2 separate regions of the Homo sapiens genome follow, and region 2 is linked to region 1. The links are contacts of gene promoters, found by promoter capture Hi-C in human tissues and cell types (Jung and others, 2019). All regions are on one chromosome and are shown on one strand. Each heading gives the region's core, a stretch centred on a gene start or on the middle of the fragment in contact. The rest is flanking DNA. Distances are from core to core; before and after follow the strand shown.

Region 1 (4,667 bases), core at 1,351-3,850:
TCCTGCCTCAGCAATTTCTCACCATCATTTTATCCATCTGAGCCTGGCCCTAAATTTTCTAAAACAAAGCTCACAATCACATCCCCCTTCAACTTACATCCTCTCTCATGGAAGAAAGGTACTTTCTGTTCCATCATTTTCCTCTCAAACTCTGCCTATGACCTGGTCCCTAAAAACGAAATGTTCCTTCCACCTCTCCAAGTCTAGGCCCTTCATTCTCTTCCTCCACTGGTTCCTTGGCAGGGCCGGGAGCACAGAGGGAATACCTCCCACCGCTGTACTGGATTTCCCACACCTCGGTTCACATCGAATTTTTCTTCTTAACCCCCAGTAATCTGGCTTGTCTTAGCAATTCTATGAAACTGCAAGCACAGAGGGTTACTGACTCCCAATAGCCAAATAAAAGCTGACCAATCTCTCCTTTTCTAAGTCCTCGCCCTTTTCGATTTCTGCTGGCTCTATCTAGCCTTGGCTCTCCACTCGCCAAGGAAAATTCAAGACTGTGGTTAGACTCTAGTCTTTCTTCTGTGCAATCTAAGTGATCCCCTCCACTGTCCTCCTAGAAATGACATCAGAAAACAATCTTAGACCTATGCATCTCCAGCCACCAGTAAATAGGAAAGCCCTCGATTCTATCTTCATTAAGCCCTTCAACCTTACTTCACATGTCCAAAACCAAATTCAAAGTCTTCCCAGGATTCCTGTCCCATTCCACCTTCACTTCCCTGTATCTACCAACTATATCATCATCGCCACGTCAGTCAAATTTCCCTTCACAGGCAGCCACCAAGGTCTGCTCGTTTTTCCATACTAGTATTGCAACTCCTATGAGAATTAATACGGTTTTTCCATATTAAAATCTCATCCACTATGACTGCAGGTTTGCTTCCTTCCTGGAGTTCAAAAATGACTGCAGTGTCCAGAATGAGAAGCTGCTGTAAGACTCCTTTCCCATGGACCAGCACCCATCCTCAACTGAAACGCAGTCTGGGAAAGTGTGAAAAAATGAAGGAGAAGGAGAGAGACACTCAGCTAACGCCACTGCCCTCATCTCACCTGCCACAAATAATCTGCATCTTCCCCCAGCTACCAAACCGTCCTTCACATAAATTTCTGTTCAGCCCACAAGCTGAAAAGCCCCCTCAGCCTCTTATTAAAGACCCATTAAATAAGTCCTTCACTTCTTGATCAAAAGGAATCATCGCTGTGACTTCTAAAGTGTAAGAAAACCAAACCTTTAAAAGTACCTGTCCTCAGGGCTTGGGGCAGTAAAAAAAAAAACAATCTAGGTGAAACACCTTCTATAGGAAAATTTATTTTTTTTGAACGAACTTAACCAGGCAAAGCAAGTAACTAGCAACATGTGCACAATTTACTTGGGCAAATGTCGCCCGTTCCTCCTCGGTGTCATCAGAAGGTACACTGGGAGAACAGAAGGGTTGAATTGAGCTGGTTTCCAAGGAACCATGTCAGAGCCGCTGCGGAGTTAAGAGCTGCGTCCACACAGCAGCCAAATCATGAAGTTGCAGGAGCGGCTGTTGTTAACCCACAGCTAAGAATAACGCTCGACTTTCCAAAATAAAACGAAGAAACGAAGTCCCCTGGCCAAGGATTCGGGGCGGCACAGAGGGGAAACGGAGCTTCCTGCACTGCCCTCATCACTCAGAACCTGGGGTCCCAGGCGATTCAGTCACCGCCCACAGAACAGCGCCGCGGGCACCACGTGAGACTCCCGGGGCCGGCTGGGAGCGGGGGACGAGGGGCGCCCACTCGGGGGTCGGCAGTTTGCAGGTGCGATGGGCGGCCCCCTCACCCACGTTTATCCGGACTGGAGCCCGCCGCTCCCGGCTGGGTTTCCGGGTGGTTCGCGCTCCTTCTGAATTGGCAGCGAGGTCGCGGCAGGTTCGAGGTAAATCGGACGAAGAGGGGAAAAAGTCTCAGGGGTCTGGGGGCCTCCGCGCCTCAGGGGAGGCAAGGGCCGGGCCAGAGGCGCGAGGGTGGGTGAGGGATTCCCGCCGCGGGGCCGGGACCGGGGCTCGGGCAGTGGGCCATGCCCCGCGCGCCCACGCGGGCCGCCCTACCGTGGCTCTGCAGGATCTCGTGCTTGAGGCCGCCGGTGTAGTCGATGAGCTCCTCCAGGCCGCGCTCGCACAGCTGCCCGTAGCCTGAGAACTTGTGCAGCACCTTCTCCAGCTCGCGCTCCACCGTCACGCACTGATCCATGCCGGAGGCGGCGGCGCTCGGCTCCTCGGCGCCCAGGTGTCCGCAGCCGTTCGGCCCGGGCCCCACCGAGGCCGCGTCCTGCTCCTCGTTCCCCAAGCGGGCGGCGCGGGAGGCTGAGGCGGCCGAGGCGGCGGGCGCACTAGCCGCGGCGCCGGGGGAGCCCCGCGCAGCCGGAGCCCGCCTGCCCCATGGCGCCCTAGCCCCCCGGCGAGTCGCCGCTGCTCCCGTTCGCTCGCTGCACTCGGCTCCGCGTCCCCAGGCCCCGCTCGCGACGTTCGGGTGCCTGCGACGGCGCGGCCGATTGTTTTTGTTTTCACGGGAACCGACCGATGACCTGGTTCTCCCGGGCGGCACCAAGCGCCGCCGACTGGGGGGAGGGGGATGGCCACCCGGGCGAGGAAAGGAGGCGGCGCGGGCCGTACCAAGTACACCCTCGGGGTGGGGGGTGCGACCCGGCGAGAACGGGCGGAGGAACGCGACGGGCGCCCACACGCGCCGCCACTCTAATGGTGTGGGCCGTACCACACGGAAGGCGTGCGAGGGAGAGGGCGAGGGTGGAGCGAGGCCCCAATTGGCCTGAGGAGCTAAATAGGGAACTTTGGAGACAGCCCCAGCGCTCGGAGAGCGCAACAACTACGCGCTCCATAAACAAGGAGGCGGAAACCGGCCCTCACCACTCCGCCCAGAAGCGGGGAACCCCAACCAATGGGCGCGGGGAGTGGTAAGAAGCCAATCCCTGGCCGAGGCGTAAGCCTTCAGCCAATCCGGGCTGAGGGGCCAAACCAACGGGCTCGCTGTTGGAGGGGGTGACTTGGAGAGCGTACCGAGAAACGAGTAGTTTATGGAAAGCCTTGGGGGAAAACTAGACAAAAATACAAAAGGCTGTTTTCCATAGGACGTCGCCCTGATCCCAATTTATTTCGTCTCCTCATCGATCTTAAGGGAAAGGGGTACCGTCATTCCGAACTTTTGGGCGACGGATCCATCTCCCGGGAATGAAAAACCAAGCCAGGCCGCCCGGGGGCTGGTTCTGCGTCGGCGGGGGGTCCCTAATGGGAATTAAAGGCGGGGGTGATTGGGCCCGGGTGAGGGGAGCCGCTTGCTGCTCGCGAAAGGCCCGCGCCGGCTGTCAGCGCTGCCCCGGGCTTGCGACACCCAGGAGGTCATGTCCCCATCCCCCGCGGACCGTGGCCCTTTGGCCCCTTGGCCTGGAACCTCTCCTGACGGTGGCCTCGCCCCAGAGCCATGTGCCGGGCAGCTTAGCCGGGTGGAAAGAACACGCGCTGGAGAGCCGGGCAGCCTGGCCCTTGCTCCCTAGGAAGCCTTATGCTATCGGATCGGATCGGCTTTACCCCCTCGGGTAAATCCTTCCCATCGCTTGCTATGGCGTCTGCAGCCTTGGCCTAGACCTCCTTGATCAGCATCGGCTGCACTACCTTTGCATTTCTTCAGGAGCCCAGCTAGTTCGTGCCTCAGGGCCTCTGCACTTGCCCTTTCCTTGGCCCAGAAAACTCTTCCTCCTACCTTTTTCATCCTGAAGTTCTTCTCAGCTCACTTGTCCCCTTACAGGGTCCTCCCCTGGCTGACCACACTAATGTACTTCCTCCCCACCGTTAATACCATAACACATTTTATTATTTCCACACCACTTAAACTCTGAAATGATCTGATGTTTTATTTTTCTGTCTGCACCACTTACATAAAACCATGACGGCAGGCCCCCTGCTTGTCTAAATTTTTTGCCTAGAACAGCCCCTGGCGTGAGGTGGTAGGCAATTCTTTTTCTTAAATTAACGTGATAACGTTTTTGAGCCTTAACTTCCGTATAACTGAGAAATAATTGGAATTAATACTTAACTAAATTGTTAGATAAAGGAGAATATATGTAAATACCCATAATAGGCTCATGATAACCACATGATAAAGGTGGTAGTAGTCATTATTAGGGCAGCCCCAACTGGTATTATTTCAGATCTCCCTTCTCCCCACCCCATTTTTCTTCCCTCTTGGCAGATGTCTCTGATTCTTCACTGAGATTAAAAAAAAAAAAAAAATCTAGCTCCAGCAACTTCTATCACTCTTCTCCAAGTATTGCTGTGTACCACCCATTTTGTGAACATTCTCATGTACCCAAAGGACCAGGAGTCCCTTCTCCCTTTCCAAGACAGCCGTTGGGGCCTGCGGGCTGCCTCTCACCCCTGTCCAGATCTTCCCCCTCTTTCTCTGCAGTAGGTTCTTCCTTTCTACTTTCAGCCCAAATGGGTTTGACCTACCTGGGGGAGGAAACTTAATTTAACCCTCCTCAAGCACTCATTTCTTTCACTGCCAAACTGCCTAGACAAATCTATGTTTATTCCTCCCTTTTCTTCAAGGATCTCCTTGATAAGCTCAGTCACCCTTTTCTCAGTCTTTTTTTTTTCTTCTCCTTCAAAGGGTTGTTATAG
Region 2 (4,667 bases), core at 577-3,076, 100 kb after region 1:
TATGGAAAATAATTTGGTCACACATTTTTTTTTCTTTTGACTGTTATTTATTATTGCCTTCTTTTGGGCCTAAAAATACTTGGCACATTGAATGTACTAGAAGTCCACATTTAACTTTAAGACGCACAGCCCAGTATGACTCAAATCACACGTTTTATGGCAGAAAAGTCATGGTATAGCAGTTTAAAATTTAAGTGTTTATTGTGAATGGTTTTGCTGCTATCATGGTGCAGTACTTGGTTTCTCACTGTTTAATATTTAAGGCGAAAGTTAAAATAATTTGATTTTAGTGTTTTCCTTTCCTTTTTGTTTAATGATACAAGCTCTAAATTTATAATATAAATTTGTATATGAATATGGAGTTTGTTCTGTCTAACAGGTAAAGTTCTAACCTCCAAGTCATACAAACCCTGTTGCTCTTTTAAGCAGGGCTGATGGCAAATTCTGTGAACCCAATTCTACATCTTTTAAGTAAGAAGCATATAAGCCATACTGTTTAAAAATGTATATGAAGCCTGTATGTGTCATTCATAAAACTAAATAATTAAGAAAGTTGTGCCTTTTTGGAGTGGTACAAATTTGGTAAGTTCCTAATAATTATGTGATAACCCCACTAAAATATAAGCCCTGTTCTATAAGAGATGGATTTTTGTCTATTTTGTTCACTTTTCCCTGATGCATAGGAAGTTCTTACTACATATTTATTGAATGTATGACTCCTAAGTGGGTATATCCAGGTTCTTCTAGTAGTTCTTGTCTATAAAATACAATGAAAGTACAATATCATGATTCTTAACAGTGTAAAAAATAGAATTACTGAAATTGGGAATCTAGGATTCTTGCAACCTTATTAGTGTTATTCTTTTCCTTTCTTCAGGTGACTTGATGGAGGGTGAGCTCTATTCTGCTCTCAAGGAAGAAGAAGCATCCGAATCGGTTTCTAGTACCAATTTCAGTGGTGAAATGCACTTCTATGAGCTTGTGGAAGACACAAAAGATGGCATCTGGCTGGTTCAGGTATGAAAAGCAGTAATAATTTGATAATTCGAGAGCCCTAAAAAAATTATTTTTACCAAAATAGTATGTACCAGCCAGTGACACTTCCGTGTCCTTGTGTCTTGTTTCTCACACATAACTCAGTTCTCTTAGGGAGGCTCCAGTATCTTCTTAAAAAGGTTTTGGAGACTGAGGAAGATGAAAATTGAGTAGTGGGAAAGAGAAAGATGGGGGATGGGGGTCAACTTTTTGTTTAGAATCCCCAGAAGCAAATCTATTTTAGTTATTGGACCTTTGTTGAATTGAGAAATACACATATATATCCCTTTTATTTAGTGATTTGCACTGTTTCTCTTAGTTTTTATTATCTCCAGTTTTTAATTCAGTGGCCTGAGTAATTTTTATATATAAGTAAGAACCCTAAAGTAAAAGTAAAGGAATCATTGTATTAGGGAAATAGCCAACTTTGTGACTATAGAGGAGCTGTTGTGGAAAATGGTGGGGGTGCTCATTACGTAACTCAGGATGATGAGATTATAATTTTTAACCCTTGTTTTTATGATAGCAAAACTGTGAGACTTAATTAGCATATTAGAATTTTAGAGCTATGATGGACCTTAAAAATATTTTATGCTTTCCAAGATGTAATTTATGGTGAGTGGGCATGCATTATCATTTACATATTTTAATGTAAATTAGAAAAATTATATTAACATAAATTTCATAAATTTTGCTTAGGACAGGACTAAAGTTATTTACATTTTAAAACTGTACATTCAAAGTGACATATCAAGTAAATTAACAGCGTGAATGTGGCTAAAATTATTAATGTAGTCTGTGAATGGCTGAAGCTTGGAAATTATATCAGACTAACCCTTTCTGAGACTCTGAGAGGTGAAGTAGCTTGCCCAAGGTCATGGAACTAGTTGGTAGTATTGAACCAGGATGAAACCCAGGTCTTCTGATTTCTTGACTGGTACTCTTATCATTTCACACTGGAGTGGGCAAAGTTTGATTCAGGGCATGAAAATTAAAACAGTTTCTTCATATTTCTTTCTGAGAGTAAAGACTGCAAAATATGGTAGGAAAAGCTATGAGTTCAGAGACATTAGTTGCAGGTCTGGTACTGTCGCTGTTACAGGTCTGGTACTGTCACTGACTAGCAGTATGATTGTAAATAGGTATATTTTTCTGTTGCACGTGGCCTCAAATAAATACATATACATCTAAAAAGGATAAAATGGTACTGTAGTCCACTGTGCTAAAGGGTTGAGGTTTGGGAATTCTTCCAGAGATTTACATTGTTCATCCATGGCCTTTCTTTATTGTATCCTTCCTATTGCATTTGTCCTTTTACCTTCCGGATAATCTAATTCAGTAATTTTTAAGTTCAGCAATGGGAGAGAATGTGAGAGTATGAGTGTAGTCTATACATTATCTATTTAAATTTTAGTTTATTTCTGTGTCAGTTGGAGTTGAAAAATAAGGTGGAGCTTTTTTAAAGCTTTAATGTATAAGTATATTGTTATTCTGTTTCTTTTCTCTGGTACTTATTTCTAATAGTCTGATTGAGAAAGACACTGGTTTTGATAATTTTAGATTTTATTACTGAGGATGAATTGAATAGCCAGTCCCACTGCCCTGCTTTCAGTGTCTAAATGTCACCCACATTGAATGATCCCATGGAAATAAATGGTGAAGATGTTGCACACCTTTGAAACTTGGAAGGGCTATGTCAAAAGTCTTGAGTTCTTTTGCTATATAGGCTGCTGCCTATAGACAACAAATACATTCTGGTTCAATAGTTAGCAGTATGTTCTTGGCTTGTAAATGATCTACTGTTTTTGATGTCCTGTTAAAGATATCCATGAATTAAGCTCCTGTAATAAATATGTGACAGAATTCATCAAAAGTTTATTCAGTTGTGGGTGTGCCAGGCCCTGTTCTGGGCCCTGAAGATATACCAGAAACACACACCAAGCTAAGGCCTTGCTCTGTCAGGCAGCTCACATTCTAGTTGGGAGAGGCAGACACCAAATAAATAAATATTTAATATAACATCAGTTAGTGGAAAGTAGTAAGAAGAAAAATAAGCAGATTAAGGAGATGAGAGTGGCAAGGAATTCTCTGGTAAGGTGACAAATGAAGTGAAGGACAAATAATGATAGTAAATGGTAGCATTATAAATTCTAGTTGCTAAATTTTTTTTCTCTGAAAATATTTTTAAACCTTATAGGTATTAATAGTTGAAAAACAACTCTTTAAAAATAGAATGTATTTCTGTGGTTTTTCTATGTATGGAAATAATGCAGTAGGACACCTGCTTAATTTTTCCAGTGATGCTCAAGGTTTGCATTGACCACCACTGTCTGGCTTGTGTTCCTTGAGGCCAGTGGCTTACATCTGTCAAATGGCTGGCCTGGTCTGAAAGAACAATCTCTGGCAGGACAACTGAGAAGAATGAGATTGAAACCCTGTCCTTGGCACTGTGAACTAGCCAGCTAAGCCAATCAGCACAGCCACCTTGGTTTAAGCCCTTAAAAGAGGGTTGTACTTTTTAAAACTATGCTTAAAATTGAAAATATCTACTAGAAACAGAAGAGAAATATTGTCTCCATTGCTTGCCATTCTTTCAGCTCAGATCATATATATTAATCTATTGTAAAGGATAACTTTCAAGAATTGTTTTTAACAATTTGAATTGTTGTTATTTTCTGTTTACAGTAGTCCCCCCTTATCTGAGGGGGATGCGTTCCAAGACCCCCAGTGGATGCCTGAAACCGTGGATAGTACCAAATCCTATATAGTCTATGTTTTTTCCTATACATACATACCTGTGATAAAGTTTAATGTGTAAGTTAGGCACAGTAACAACAACAACTAATAAAAATAGAACAATTATAACAGTATACTGAAATAACATTTATGTAAATGTGGTGTCTCTCTCTCCGAATATCTAATTGTATGTAGTATTTTCGGACTGCAGTTGACTGCAGAAAGTGAAACTGAGGGTAAGGGGAGACCACTGTATTTTAGAAGAAGCTGACTAATTTGTTCTCTGTCATTTGTTTTAAGTCTATGAGGAGTGTTTTCATAAATGAAGATGCACAGATGGCAGCCAGTTCAATCCTCTTCATATTTTTAAGCTTTTCCAGGTCCATGTTACGTATAGTCTCTGTAATGTGAACAGAATTTATTTTAGTTTTCAAGGTAGCAACATACATATGACATCTTTACCAATGACACACTATGAAATACATGTAGAACCAAGTGCTCTTTTTTCTAAGTTATTCCTAACATTGTTTTTCTCCTTTGTCCCTAACCCAAGCTCATATCTTTCATTAGCTATTCATTTAACAGTTTTGTGGATTCTTTGGCCCCAGTCTTCATAGCATTACAAATAGAAGATGGTTACTTTTCTTTCAAAAGACCCTTGGTCAGAGAGGCAGATGGCACAGTGGATAGGCTTCTGAAGTGGAGAAGTTAGCATAATTTATGGGTTTTATGGATTTATCCTCCTCCTAACATTTCTGTTTCTCCGTTTTGACTTTTGTCATAGTTCAAAGAAGGACATATTTGTTCCCTACTGGCTGTGTTACATCATATGGAATTTAAAGTCACTGGAATTGAGGTAGCAGTGAGAAGCATCATATGATTTAAAATAAAGCTTT

What was found. Contacts are between HindIII fragments. The study calls those that stand out against the background at their distance.
Region 2: a fragment that was not itself captured here is called in contact with the fragment with the promoter of RMND5A in region 1 in 2 of the 25 tissues and cell types used here (dorsolateral prefrontal cortex and hippocampus).

What each region holds. Positions count from the first base shown.
Region 1 is chr2:86,718,224-86,722,890 of GRCh38, reverse strand. It overlaps RMND5A (required for meiotic nuclear division 5 homolog A), which reads right to left and starts at 2,600. Exons shown (of 9, transcript NM_022780.4): 1 at 2,082-2,600. The coding sequence starts at 2,223. RNF103-CHMP3 (RNF103-CHMP3 readthrough) reads left to right here and starts at 1,769. Exons shown (of 8, transcript NM_001198954.1): 1 at 1,769-1,909. RefSeq lists silencers at 1,984-2,043, 2,522-2,680, 2,564-2,753 and an enhancer at 2,874-3,407. The HindIII fragment of the contact is 16,881 bases long and covers 1-4,667 here.
Region 2 is chr2:86,616,680-86,621,346 of GRCh38, reverse strand. RNF103-CHMP3 (RNF103-CHMP3 readthrough) reads left to right here. Exons shown (of 8, transcript NM_001198954.1): 3 at 878-1,017. The coding sequence starts at 886. RNF103 (ring finger protein 103) reads left to right here. Exons shown (of 4, transcript NM_005667.4): 2 at 878-1,017. It overlaps CHMP3-AS1 (CHMP3 and RNF103 antisense RNA 1), which reads right to left. Exons shown (of 6, transcript NR_183901.1): 6 at 3,898-4,171. Among named protein-coding and RNA genes, the nearest start is that of RNF103, 4.9 kb to the left of the region's middle. RefSeq lists a silencer at 4,006-4,055. The HindIII fragment of the contact is 6,359 bases long and covers 1-4,667 here.